Linked DNA regions of Homo sapiens: region 2 is linked to region 1. Evidence: promoter capture Hi-C in human tissues and cell types (Jung and others, 2019). All regions are on one chromosome and are shown on one strand. Each heading gives the region's core, a stretch centred on a gene start or on the middle of the fragment in contact. The rest is flanking DNA. Distances are from core to core; before and after follow the strand shown.

Region 1 (7,377 bases), core at 2,635-5,134:
AACATCAGGGCTAAAATAATAAAATATTTACAAGAAAACATAAAAGAAAATCTTTGAGACTTGGGCTAGGCAAAGATTTCTTGCCTATGACATCAAGAGCATAGTCCATAAAATAATTTTAAAAACTAATAAATTGGACCTCATGAAAATTCAAAACTTTTATACTTCAAAAGACACAAGAAAATGAAAAGACACAACAGACTGGAAGAAAATATTTGCAAAATATATCCATTAAAGGATCTGTATCCACAATTTACAAAGAATCCTCACAACTCAACTTATAAGATGACAAGTAACCCAATTAGAAAATAAGCAAGAGATATAAACAGACATTCCATCAATGAAAATACATAAATGACTAGTAATTACGTGAGACAATGTTCAACATCATTAGTCCTTAGGGAAACGCAAAATTAATGCCTCAATGAGATACTATTTCGCACCCACTAGAATGGCTATAATAAATCAGGCAGACAATAACAAATGTTGGCAAAGATACTCAGAAAAGGGAACTTTCATACATCTTTGATGGGAATGTTATAAAATGGTGTGACCATTTTGGGAAAGTGTTGCAGTTTCTCAAAAAGTAAAACATAAAACTACGATATGACCCAGCAATTCTACTTCTAGTTATTTACCCAAGGTGTATGAAAACATATGTCCACACAAAGACTTACATGTGAATATTCGTAGTGCCATTATTTATAATAGCCCAAAACTTGAAACCATGACCATCAACTGGTTTTGTATAGACAAAATGTGGCATATCCACACAATGGAATATTATTCAACTATAAAAAGGAACAAATTAATGGCACATGCTATGTCATGCATGAATCTCAAAAGCATTGTTAAAGAAGCTCGACACAAAAGATGACATATTGAACGATCACGTTTATGAAGAAGAGCCTAGAAAAAGCAAATTTATACAGGCAGAAAACAGATTAGTGATTTCCTGGGACTGAGGGTAGAAATGAGATTAACTGTGAATGGGTATAAAGAATCTTACTGTGGTGTCCTCAAATGTCCTAAAACCTATCTATAATGATGGTTGCAACATTTGGCAAAATTAGTAAAAATCACTGAATTGTACACTTAGAATGGATGAATTTCATATATAAAATATACCTAAATAAGTTGTTTTCTTTTCTTTTCTTTTTTTTTTTTTGAGATGGAGTCTTGCTCTGCCGCCCAAGCTGGAGTGCAGTGATGCAATCTTGGCTCACTGCAACCTCTGCCTCTCGGGTCCAAGTGATTCTCCTGCCTCAGACTCCTCAGTAGCTGGGATTACAGGCGCCTACCACCACGCCTGGCTAATTTTTGTATTTTTAGTAGACATGGGGTTTCGCCATGTTGGCCAGGCTGGTCTCAAACTCCTGACCTCAATTGAACCGCCCGCCTCAGCCTCCCAAAGTGCTGGGATTACAGGTGTGAGCCACAGTGCCCAACCATAAAGCTGTTTTCTAACAAAAAAAAAAAACATGACTTTTTGTTTCGCTTGTCCCTTGAAGAATTATATGAGTAACAATTGTACTAATCCTAATCTTGGATAGGAAACCATGGTATCACTTTTGAGAGGATCTAACACAGTGTTAGGAAAACTCCTTCAACTGGTTGTTCATTGGACAGAGGTTCTCCAGGAAAAGAATTTCTCATAAATCAAAGTTCTTTCTGTTTATATTTTAAGAAGCCAGTGCCTGGAAACAATTCAAAAGTACATACAAGAGATTTAAGTTGTCTTTGGCAATGGACTGATTGATCTGATGAGTATTCTACTCTACATTCAGATTACAGTATATGAACTTAAAAAGACAAGCAAAAACTTTTAACACAATATGAAAGGACATAGGGTTAAGTTATATAACTTTGTGTGTACATGTCCAAATGTCAAAGGCGCTGTTTGCTTGAGCAACTGTATAATGTTGTAACACAATAGTCCTTAATAATAATACTAAATGACAAGTAACATTACAGGCATTAATCCAATCCCTGGATTGTCCTGTATTCATCTTAAATACATTCTAACTATCCACTCTACTTATAAGGTCTTTCAAAAATAACCCAGGACTTTATAACCCTCACAGGACAGCAAAGAATTTTACAAACTTTTTAGGTCTTTGCAAAAATACCACCTTGTCTGACCACCTTATTGAAAACTGCCAACCTCACAAGACTCTCTATCTTCCCTTCCCTGATTCGTTTTTCTCAATAAAATTAAACATACCTTTTACATATATATTCTGATTACTGTCTGCCTTCTCCTACTAGAAAGCTAAACAAAAAGATCTGTTTTTTCCTTGCTGTATCCTCATTGCCTAGAACAGTGCCTACCACGTTGCAGGTGCTCAGCGTTTTTTGAACACATGAATGAGTATTAAATATGTGCAAGAAAACAGGAGCTGATTCTTACCAAAGGAATGAAAAATGAGTCTCTTCTACTCATTCAACAGCCTTGACTTGGGGTTAAAATATGAATTTTACAAGGAAATAGAGACCTCAGAATAAAATTTCCAGACTGCCTACCCAGCATTTCTTCAGCAAAGAGAAAAAATAAAGGTCAATATTTCACTTATAATTCTGGATTTGCAACAAAGTATTTTTAATAAACAACTGTCTCTATTCTGGAGAGAAGGCAGGTTAATTAAATCACATGTGACTAATTAACAAAAAAGAAAACAAATGAAAGTTCCATACTTAACTATTCTTACTAGTTACTTAACTCGAATAAAGTATAACATTTCAAAAGCAGCCTGTTTTTCTACATTCAAAAGGGGATCCTATCTCCATGAAGACAGACCTTAGCAGAATATGCCTTAGCAGTCCTGACCTCCTCAGCCTCAAATCCTCCAAACACCAAGGAAACTTTTTCTCTCCCTTACCCTAGAAGTCTTCCCATAGCCATTTTACAAACACAAACACCTTCAGACCTCTCTGTTTTAATTAACCTCTGACCCAATCCAGCTGCATTCCAGCGTTAAACAACACCCCAGGAAGAAAGACTCACAACCTCTGGCCCCTGGAGCATCCCCCAAACAGTCACCCCCAACAACCGAGAGTCCTGGAACGTGAAGGAATCTGGGGATGGCAGGGACCTCCCAGCAAGACCAGAATTGGAGGACATCTTAGACTTCACTCTGGTACTGACCATTTCTGTGTGACCTTGGGCTTGTTACTACATCTCTAGGGGTCCTAGTTTTCTCACCTTTAGGGTGAGGACAACATGTTGACCAAGTCACTGTGAGGATTCAATGAGATTCCATGTAAAGCACCTAACAGGGCACCCGGCACGAAACGGCGCCTCAGTCCTCAGTAGCGTGGATGATCCCCGCCCTAAGCCTACAGGCTCAGAGCTGGAAGGCGCCTCGCAGAACGAGTCCAGTTCTCCCGATTTTGCAGAGGAGGACACTGAGGTCCAGAGAACACAGAAGTGCCTTGCTCCGACCTCCAGAAAGGCAGATGGGCGCGGAACCTGGAACCCAGGACGCCCATCCTCAGCTCACACCCCCGCCCTCTTCCCTGGACCCTGTGGGGCCCGGGCGCCGGTGCCAGGCGAGGCGGTGCGCGCCACCCTCCCGGGGCCCCAGCTCCGCGCGACCCGGGACCGCTCCACCTGCCGCCGAGCCCCGCGCCCGCCGGAGGCCCGGGGCTCCCGCCTCTCCCCTCGGCCTCCCGCAAGTCAGGCAGCCCCGCACAGCGGTCCGGAGCGCGTACTCAACTCTTCACTTTGCCGAAGGTGCCGACGCCCAGCGTGTCGCCCAGCACGTAGTGTCCGATCTTCACCCGCCCGTCGTGCTTCTGCTTCTCAGCCATCTTCGGCGCGCGCGGCCTCGCTCCACCGCCTGCCGCTCCGCGTAGCCGCCGCCGCCGCCGCCTACCCACAGTGCAGCGGGCCCTGCGGGCGAGGGGGCGGACCCCGAGCCGCGAGGGGCGCGGGGCGGGCGCGGGGTCCCGGGAGAGGGCGCTGGGCGCTTCGGGCCCAGGTGGGAAGCAACGGGCGAGCGGCGGGCGGGGCGGGGCCGAGGGAGGGAGCGCGAGGCGCCCGCTCCCGGGAGTGAGAGGCTCCTGCGGCGGAACCCGAAGCAGCGACAGCGGGGGCCGGGGACGCGGGGCGCTGGGCGGGAGTGCGGGAGGGGCTGCGCCAGATGCGCGGGGTCCGAGTGAGGGGCGGAGGCGACAGGTGCTGCGAGGGGGGTAGGCGAGGGTGCCGAGGGAGGCAGGAGGCCCTTTCTGAGGAAAACCGAAGGGGGTGAAAATAGGGGGTGAGACTGGGGCCCGATCCTAGGGAATGGAAAGACTTGGAAGTCAAACTGGAAGAAGAGACGGGCCTCGCATGTCGGGAGCGAGGGGCTGTAAAAGGGAAGAATCGGGAGGGGAGACTGCGGGAAGGGCCCTGGCCAAAGGGGCAGTGGCAGGAGAGCCTCTAGGAAGCTCCTCAAGTCTCGTCTGAGGCTTTTGGATACAGGTCGCGGCACAGGGAGAATGCACGCAGCTCTGTGCTCTCTTGAATTGTCCTCCTCTACTTATTCTGTAATTCCCAATTATTTTGTCCTATAGATGGAAGAGACCCTCTCCGCCAGAGCTCTCAATTTTAACTAATTTGCCCACAGTTTTCCAAAAAATCTCAGTCACGGTATTTGCTCGAGTGTTTTTTAGCACATGCTTATATAAATATGTAGTTTTACCACGCGCTTATATAAACATATAGTACCGAAATGTGATACAGCTGTACAAGAAGGAAATGGGAAAGACGTGGAAAGGGAAACAATGTTCTGCCCACAGAAAGTAAAATACGTAAGCGACAGAGGAATTGTGAAGGGCGAGGCCAGTATAAGGTCACATATTAAAGGAAGAATAAATGTGATATAGAAGTGAAAAGAGTGGTAAGAGGAAATTAGAAGCATGATGCCTAGGCAGCGTGTTCAAAGACTGACCTCCCCACCCTCCCCCACAAAAAAAAAGAAAAAAGACTGGCAAAGAATTAGGTAATAAAGCGATTATCTCTGCCTCTCTTCCTTCTCTCCCGCCCTTCCTTCCCTCCTTCCTTCCTTCCTTTAATGTTGTCTCATTCTTTAATGTTGTTCTGTCTTTCAGTGATTAAAGTTTATTTGCTTCTCACCACACACACAAAAAGATTCGTATACAATATGTTTGTTAATTAGCTTGACTTATAGCCATTCCACAATCAATATATTTCAAAACATATACATACTAAATATATACAATTTTTATTTGCCAATGAAATAAAAAATTTTAAAACAGTAAAAAAAAATTCTGTTTGGGGATAAGTAATTAAGGATTAGTCAAACATTTATAGCACTGCATGCCAGTAGAGTTTCAAGGTCACATTCCTCAAACATGAAGTCTCTTGAACACTGTTTATATGTAAATTGAAATGTATTGATCAAAAAGAATAGGACACAACAAAACTTTGTTTTCTGATAAGTACTAAATATAGAAATTTCAAACATTCATTCTCATCCAAACATCAAGACAATCTGATGAGAGATGATCACAGCTTATAAATTATAGATATCACAGCTGTTAAACAGAGGCTATTTTTGTTCATTCTTCAGATCATCTTTCTTGCTGACAAGTATCATCTAGGAATCACTCTACCTCGCTGGCAATTTTGAGAAAATAGCCAGTTATTTTTGTGCTGAACTTTCATCTGGTTAAGGGTCATTCCTTCAGTAGTCAAGTGAGTAAGAAAAGACCTATTCTGCTTTTGAGGTATGAGATGTATATGTCTTCTGCTCTAATATCCCGTTAAAAGATGTTGAAAAGTCTTCACTTGAAGTTAGATGATTGCTTTCTTGAAGCTACATAAAGACTAACTGTAAATTGAGATTTCAAAGCATTTCGTACTGTCTTAACTATTTGTTGATAAATACTGTAAGTTAAATTATTATATACTTCATAACTATGATTCTTACATAGCTACTGTGGACTACCTTATAGTTTTGTTACTATGTGAAACATCTATGATACTTTGTTGATTAAGAAGTTCATTTAAACACAATTATTTAATTGTCATAAAAGAAAGATTATTATTCCCATTTTATAGATGATAAAACTTAGTTTTTCCCTTTCTGATTTGCCCAGGGCTAAAAAGTGGCAGAGTCAGAACTCATATCCAGTTCTGACTTGTCCTTCAGTCTGCCTACTATACCGCAGCTGCCTATGCCAAAAGAAAGTATGGTGCTCTAAGAAAGTTAAAAATTGTCACAGTTGTGGTTCCATTTTCATATTTTTATTATTTCTTGGGCAGTCCAATAATATATCCTATAAATTTGTAAGTATTTAAACTACTTTTTGTTGTTTTTCTGACTTTTATTTAGAGGAAAGGTTGAATGGTAAGTGGGTAAGAAGGACAACTCTTGGTGGCAGTACTCAGCCCTCTGTTGTCCTGGACACTTCAAGATAAGGTTCCATATTTGCCTCTTCCTATTCAGCAGTAGAAAACTCGACAGTTAATCAGAGTAGATCTCCTTAAGGGTCATGCCTCTTGGAGGTCTCACCCCTAAAGATGACCTGGTAAATGCAATGTTCCCATTTTATTATCTTCCAATGAAGGTTTCACGCCGCTATTGTTTAGTACCAATCTCTAAGACCAGTGCCCCAGGGAGGTGTTCAGTTCTTAGCGCTGGTCCAACTATTGCTGCTTTACCCTCCTGCTTCTGAAACTTTGGGGTTGTTTTACCTTCAAATATTCTAAAATAAGTCCTGAGTAGGACATTAATGCAAGACCACTAAACTAATATACTGTACTAGACACCATTGGTATTATCAGTAACCAATTATTTCAAGTCTTTGCTCACAGTCACCTTCTTGGTGAACCCTACCCTGGCCACCCTATTTAAGTTGCAGTTTCTTTTTTTTTTTTTTTTTTGTAATTTTTTTTAAATTTTTTTTTTTTTTTTTTTTTTTTTTTAGAAGCAGGGTCTCGCCATGTTACCCAGGCTGGTCTCAAACTCCTGGACTCAAGTGATTGTCCTGCCTCAGCCTCTCAAAGTACTGAGATTATGGGCGTGAGCCACCGCACCAGGCCTAAATTGCAGTTTTATCTCACTCATGCTCTCTGCCCTGCACTCTCATCCCCTGACCCTCCTCAACTTTTTTACATAGCACTAGCCATGTAACATACTATTTAATTTATGTGCTTATTATATTTTTGTCTGTTTCTCCCAATTAGAATCTAAACTTCACAAAAGAAGAGAGGCCTTTTTTCTCTATTTTGTTCACTGATGTATCCTTAGCTCCCGGGACAATGCCTGACAAAATATAGATATCCAAGCAGATTCAGAATGTGGCACCTGAAGTTTATTCAGTGTGGGGGAATCTCTTTAAGGGAAAAAAAAAATGCAAAATTGGGTATGA
Region 2 (6,577 bases), core at 2,460-4,959, 41 kb before region 1:
ATGTTGGCCAGGCTGGTCTCGAACTCCTGACCTCAAGTGATCTGCCCGCCTTGGCCTCCCAAAATGCTGGGATTACAGGCATGAGCCACCAAGCCTGGCCAGAAGAAATATTTTGAATGGCAATCATTAGTCTTTGGGAAGAAACATGGCAAGGTATTCTAATTTATATAAAATAAACGAATATGACTGAAGAAGAATTGAGACTATTTCAAATGAACTTTGGAAAGGTAATTATACTGAGAACTCTAGAAGAAATAGTTTTATAAAAGCTATCTTTACAAGCACCAAAGTGATCACGTAAACTGAATACTGTAGGGCAGGTGCATCTGCTGTAGCACCTCACTGTAGGTTGGTCTGATTTAGTAACAATTTTCAATCACTTTTGTGCTCTGTACATCCTAGATGGGGCACAAAAGAAAAGAAGTGATGACATTCTAATAAATAAATTTAGCTGCCATTTCTGAGTATATCACAGGTCTTCAACAGATATTCTTGGAATTAATTATTTCATGAAACCTCTAAATCCTTAGCAGCCACTGTCTTACACTAAAGGCCAGTCTAGAGCAATGAAAATCATAACGTTACTAAGCACTTACTGTCTGCCAGGCACTAAGCTATTAAATGGTGACACAACATTTATTGAGTACCTACTTGTATTGTACTCGGTGAGATCAAAAGTTGGTGCCTCTACTCGTGGAGCTTACAGTTTAGCCAGAAAGACAGACATTAAATAAAGATTCTCTTCAAACACAAATATGATCTCCAGTAGCCTCTCAATTTAGAATCTTCAAAGGTTTCCCATTGCTCTTAGGTCCTGAATAAATCAGGCCCTTGCCATCTCTGTTGTTTGGTCTCACCTTTGAGTCACAACACTGAGTCATACTACATTTTTCAGTGTTAGTCATGCTGTACCTCCTCCTGCTACAGCTCCTTTGTATAAGCTGTTTTCACTGACCTGAATCCTATACTATGACCTGAGTGAGCCCTAATCATCCTTTAGATCTCAGCTTAAAAGTCACTTCCTAAGTCCAGGTGAGGTGCCTTTTTGCACTCACAGATGCGTTTTCCTGAGCTTCAGACCACGCATCTCAGTTTGTAATTATATGTTTTTATTATTACAATAATTTGATTAATGAATATGTATTTAGTAAAGTGCCTATAACAAAGTAGGTATTTAAGTAAATGTATAAATTAGCACTTTTAAATAACGTGAGTGCTTAGAGCCAAAACCAGAGTAATCTGAAACTGAAAAATCATAGCAAAATTACAGCAAAACTTCAACCAATAAAATTTCCCTTTGTCCCCCACCCCTAACCACAATGGGGTAGGGACAAAGGGAAACAAATTTCAGAAGGAAGACGTCTTAAAAAGACAGTTTTACATTAAGGATTTAGTGGAAAAGGCAAATTCCAGGATTACATTCTAAGCCTGGCCTGAGTAAGTCAAATCTCTTGTGCTGTCTAAAATACAAGTATATTGAAGCATTACAAGAAATTCAATCATGAATCACTCATACTTCTCAGTATTATTTTCCTAGTACAGCAGAGAAATAAACTAATGTAGTTTAAAAATTTTTCAGAAACAGCATTTCTAATTGGTAAAAATAAATTAATAATCCAGAAAAATCCTAAGCATTTTCCAGTTGACCAAGTTATACGCATTTTTAGGAAATAGCCACATAAAATAGTATATGAAAATCAAAAAAAATAGAAATCTTTCCAAAGTTAGCCAAAAATCAACATTCATGAGTACACCTTTTTGGTGGTAAAATCTATTGAGATTTTAGAATATTATTTATGTAGCTACATACACATAAGATTTTTCTTTAGTTAGAACTCAGTTACATAGAAATGTAGCAATCATGCTTGGTTGATGACACTTGTCTTCAGTAGTCCATGAATGACCTTTTATTTAATTACTATTTTTAATAATGTAATACCTACAAACCCATCACTCAGACAAAAAGGCCAAGACCTTGACAACAGCTTCCAACTAATTAATATAGGGATCCGCCTTCCCCATCCCATTGCTTCTCACCCAATGCAGCTGTCATCCTGAACACCCTGTTTATCCTTTCCTCCCCACCTCTTTTATACAGTTTATATATGTACATATGCATGTGTGTGTATCCCCTCTCTCTACATATGTATATTTCATATATATGAATAATTCAAATTCATATATATGTTAAACTGTTCTTTGCTTTAAAAACCAGGTATCACGCTCTATGTAATATTCTAGAAGTTATTTTATTGAGATTCAATCCTATTGTTGTGTTTGCTGTAGTTATTTGATTTGACCATTGTTATATCCTATTGTATTTATTCATCTACTCTACCACTAAAGAGTTTTGGCCAGGTGCGGTGGCTCATACCTGTAATCCCAGCACTTTGGGAGGCCGAGACAGGTGAATCACCTGAGGTCGAGAGTCTGAGACCAGCCTGACCAACATGGAGAAACCCCATGTCTACTAAAAATAAAAAATTAGCCAGGCGTGGTGGCACATGCCTGTAATCCCAGCTACTAGGGAGACTGAGGTACGAGAATCGCTTGAACCTGGGAGGTGGAGGTTGCGGTAAGCTGAGATCACGCCATTGCACTCCAGCCTGGGCAACAAGAGTGAAACTCTGTCTCAAAAAAAAAAAAAAAAAAGAGTATTTAGGTTGTTTCTATAATGTTGCTATTATTTGCTGCTGTGAACATTAATATGGTTTGTATGTTCATCCCCTCCAAATCTCATGTTGAAATGTGATTCCCAATGTTGAACATGGGGACTGGTGGGAGGTGATTGGATCATGGGGGTAGATCCATCCCTCATGAATGGTTTAGCACCATTGCCTCAGTAATAAGTGAATTCTTGCTCAGTTCATAAGAGAGCTGGTTGTTTAAAGGAGACTGGCTCTTCCTCCTTCCTCTCTTGCTCTCCCTCACCATGTGACACCCTGGCTGCCAGTTGCCTTCTGTCATGATTGTAAGCTTCCTGAGACCCTTACTAGAAGTAAAAGCCAGCACCATGTTTCCTGTACAGCCTGCAGAACTGTGGGCCAATTAAACCTCTTTTCTTTATAAATTACCCAGCCTTCAGTATTCCTTTATAGTAATGTAAAAATGGACTAACACGAACATTCTTCTACATGGCAAGATTTTCTCCTTGATATACACTGATGAGTGCAACTGCTGAGTCATAGTTATTGTGTATGTTCCAATTGAAAAGATAATACCAAAGACAGTTTTCCAAAGAAAGTTTGGCAATGCTAAAATCTTTAGAAAACTGGTGGATTTATATATTCTCCAACAGTTGCAAAACACCATATACATTTCTTCGTAGAAAATGCTGTGTCTTTTGCCCATGCTTATTGAGTTGACAGTACTTTTCTTATTTATGTATGGACATATAGAATAAGTCAAACTTTCTATAACATTCTAGAGTCTAAGGTAATTAATGTCTTGGTTATTAACTTTGTAAAAGTATATGTTTTCAGTCATCATTTCACATTGAATTTGGATTTCACTTCCTTTGTAAATAAATCTGTACATATCTCTAAAGGATAACTTAAAAATATATGTGTGTATGCACAATATGCAAAATATTGTTATCATGCATAAATTTAAAAAACCATGAATGTCATCAAATATCCAATCAGAAGATTTATTGATACAAACACAATCAATATATTGTAATTGGCTCATTTGTCTCTTATGTCTCTTCTAATTTATAGGTTGCTCCTCTATCTCTGTTGTTTTTTTCTTGCATTCTTTTGTGGAAGAAACCAGTTAGTTTGTTAAAGAGGATTCCACAGTATGAATTTTGTTGTTCCATCCTTTATAGCAGCAAAATGCACAATTTCTAACCCACTCTTAAATCTAGATACTTGATCAGATTTGTTTCATTTTTGCAATTTTTGTTTTCATTTGAAAGACTAAGTAGTGTAGTGTACCTCTAGCCAAAGGCATATAATGTGTCTCTTTTTCTGACACATTGGAAGCCACTGTTGATCAGAGCCTAGATGCATTAATTCACATTAATTTAATGAAATCTTAAATGCTGGCAAATTTGCATAGTCTAGTAATGAATGAATTCTGATCTAAAAGAAATTCTTACCCAAAACTTCCTCCCTCAAAAATCTCATTGTCTTTGAAGTGCAGGCCATCAGATAATACCTCCTCATACCTTTTCACATTATAGTCATCAATCAATCTTTTACTAACTCCTTCTCATTCTGAATTAATGTCTTTTTCCCCATTGCTACTACTGTCACTGTTTCAGGTGTAAGTGATATCTTTATAGATAATCTGTGATATAAACAGACATGTTAACATCATAGTGCTCTAGAGCTCAGTCCTTGGACTTCTTGTTTATCTGTACTCATATCTTTGGTAACCGCATCCAGTCTTAAGGCTTAAAATATCTTAACATATGGCCTTTAAGTTCTTTGAATGCCTCATTTCTAATTATCTTTTCTTCCACCACACACAGCCAACCACTCCATGGTCATATACTTTCAAAGACTAACTCCTCCAGTTATGCACTGGATTATCTCCCACACCTACGAAGGGACTTGGCTTCTATAATTAGCCCCTCTTTCTTTTGTATCAATTCCTTCCTCTTGACTGAATCACTCCTTTTGGCATACCAACATTCTACAATATCTCCCATTTTAAAAAGCTAACCTTGTTTAGACTCCTCATTTCCTTCTGGTTACCACTCCTATGTCTCTCCTCTCCTGCCTATAGTTACTATCTCCCCTTTTTTATCTCATATTCCCTCTTAAACCCTTTACATCAGGTTTTTGCCCTCATCATTCCAATAAATTGGTTCTTTTCAAAGACAACAGCAACCTCCACGTTGCCAAATCCAACAGTCAATTCTCCGTTATCATCTTACTCAATATTCACCAGTAAAAGGGACAGTTGGTGATCTTTCCTAAAACACTTTCTTCTCTTGGCTTCAAGATACCCGATTCCCCTAATTTTCCTCCCACCTCACTGATCATTTTCATTCTCTTTTACTGGTTCCTCCTCATTTTTCAGACATGTTAGCATCATAGTGTTCTAGAGCCCAGTCCTTGGACTTCTTGTTTATCTTGGTGATTTCATCCAGTCTTAGGGCTTTAAATATCTTAAATACAGTCTGTCTGCTGATGGCTTCCAAATTTATCTCTCTAGCTTACACCTCTCCCCTGAACTCCAGATTCACTTATTCAACAGCCTACTTACATCTCTACTTGGATGTCTAATAAGCATTTCAACTTCATAAAACCAAAATTAAATTGTTGAAACCACCCCCCTAACATCCCACCTCAAACCTGTTCCTCCTACAATCTTCTCCACTTCAGTTACTGGCAACTCCATCCTTGTTTTTTCGCCGAGGCCAGATGCCTTGGCGTCATCCTTAACTTCTTTCCTCTCACAACTCACATTTTATCTGTTAGCAAATGCTGTTGACTCTATCTTGAAAGTACATACAAAACATGCTTACTTCTAAACACTACTACACTATGCTGTATTTCAAGCCAACATCATCTTTTACAGATCACTGCAATTGACTCCCAATTGGTTTCCCTGCTTCAACTCTTGCTCACCTACAGTCTAAATGTAAGTCAGATCACATCATACCACTAATCAAAGCCTTCCAATGGCTTCCCATCTTAGACAAGAGTAAAAGCCAAAGCCCTGACAATGGCCTATAATGCCCTTTATGTCTCTGACCTTATCTCTCACTCTAATCTTCCTAGATCATTCTGCTCCCTTGATCTCTGACCTGCAGGAATTTCTACTTTCCTTTGTATTTGCTCTTCCCTCTATGTGTAACATTCACCCACTTCAGATATCTACATGGCATATCCCCTCACCTCTTCACTGTCTAACATATGACATATAATAAGGGATTTATTGTCTATTTCCCCACCACCCCTCCACCACACACTAATATAATCTCTATAATAGCAAGGATTTTGTTGTTGTTGCCTTTTTGTCTGTTGCTGTATCCCTAGTGCCTAAATGGTGTCATCTGTTGAATGAATGGATCAACCAACAACCTGCCTTTCTGGCTTTATTTTTCCACTTCCCTATACATACTCTGTGCACCAAACAAACCAGACTGTTTGTTCCCAATACACCATATTCCTCACACTTTCATTCTTTTGTTCTTGCTTGGACTCCTAGAGCCATCAGGACCTTGTTCAAATGTCATTATGGAGCTACAAGTAATTATTGAATACCTACTACTGTGCTAGTTGCAGGAGAGATAAAGATGATAGATGATATCTCCATTTACATGTCTAATGGATTCTTAGCTTATCATGGCCAAAACAATATCCTTAATGTTCACATCTCTCTAATGTTTCTTTTCCATTCTTTCCATCTCAGAAAATGACACCACTATCACTACCTACTTGCTCAAGCCAAAACCCAAAATCCCAGTTGCTTAAGCAAAAAAAAAAAAAAAAAAAAAAAAAAAAAAATTCCTTTCTTTCTCCTCCTTATCTAACCCATCAGTAATACATTAGTTCTCCCTCCAAAATACATATCAAATCCATCCATTTCTCTCCATCTAGACCAGGACTGTTGAACAGAA

Evidence for each region. The method cuts DNA at HindIII sites, captures the fragments that hold promoters and counts their contacts. A contact is called where the count stands out against the background at its distance.
Region 2: a contact is called between a fragment that was not itself captured here and the fragment with the promoter of PRKAA2 in region 1, in 1 of the 25 tissues and cell types used here (bladder).

The regions. Positions count from the first base shown.
Region 1 is chr1:56,641,821-56,649,197 of GRCh38, reverse strand. PRKAA2 (protein kinase AMP-activated catalytic subunit alpha 2) reads right to left here and starts at 3,884. Exons shown (of 9, transcript NM_006252.4): 1 at 3,717-3,884. The coding sequence starts at 3,810. LOC101929935 (a long non-coding RNA gene) reads left to right here and starts at 3,880. Exons shown (of 3, transcript NR_135111.1): 1 at 3,880-3,980; 2 at 5,574-5,698. The HindIII fragment of the contact is 16,794 bases long and covers 1-7,377 here.
Region 2 is chr1:56,682,959-56,689,535 of GRCh38, reverse strand. The region is part of intron 2 of PRKAA2 (protein kinase AMP-activated catalytic subunit alpha 2); the gene reads right to left. Among named protein-coding and RNA genes, the nearest start is that of PRKAA2, 41 kb to the right of the region's middle. The HindIII fragment of the contact is 6,820 bases long and covers 300-6,577 here.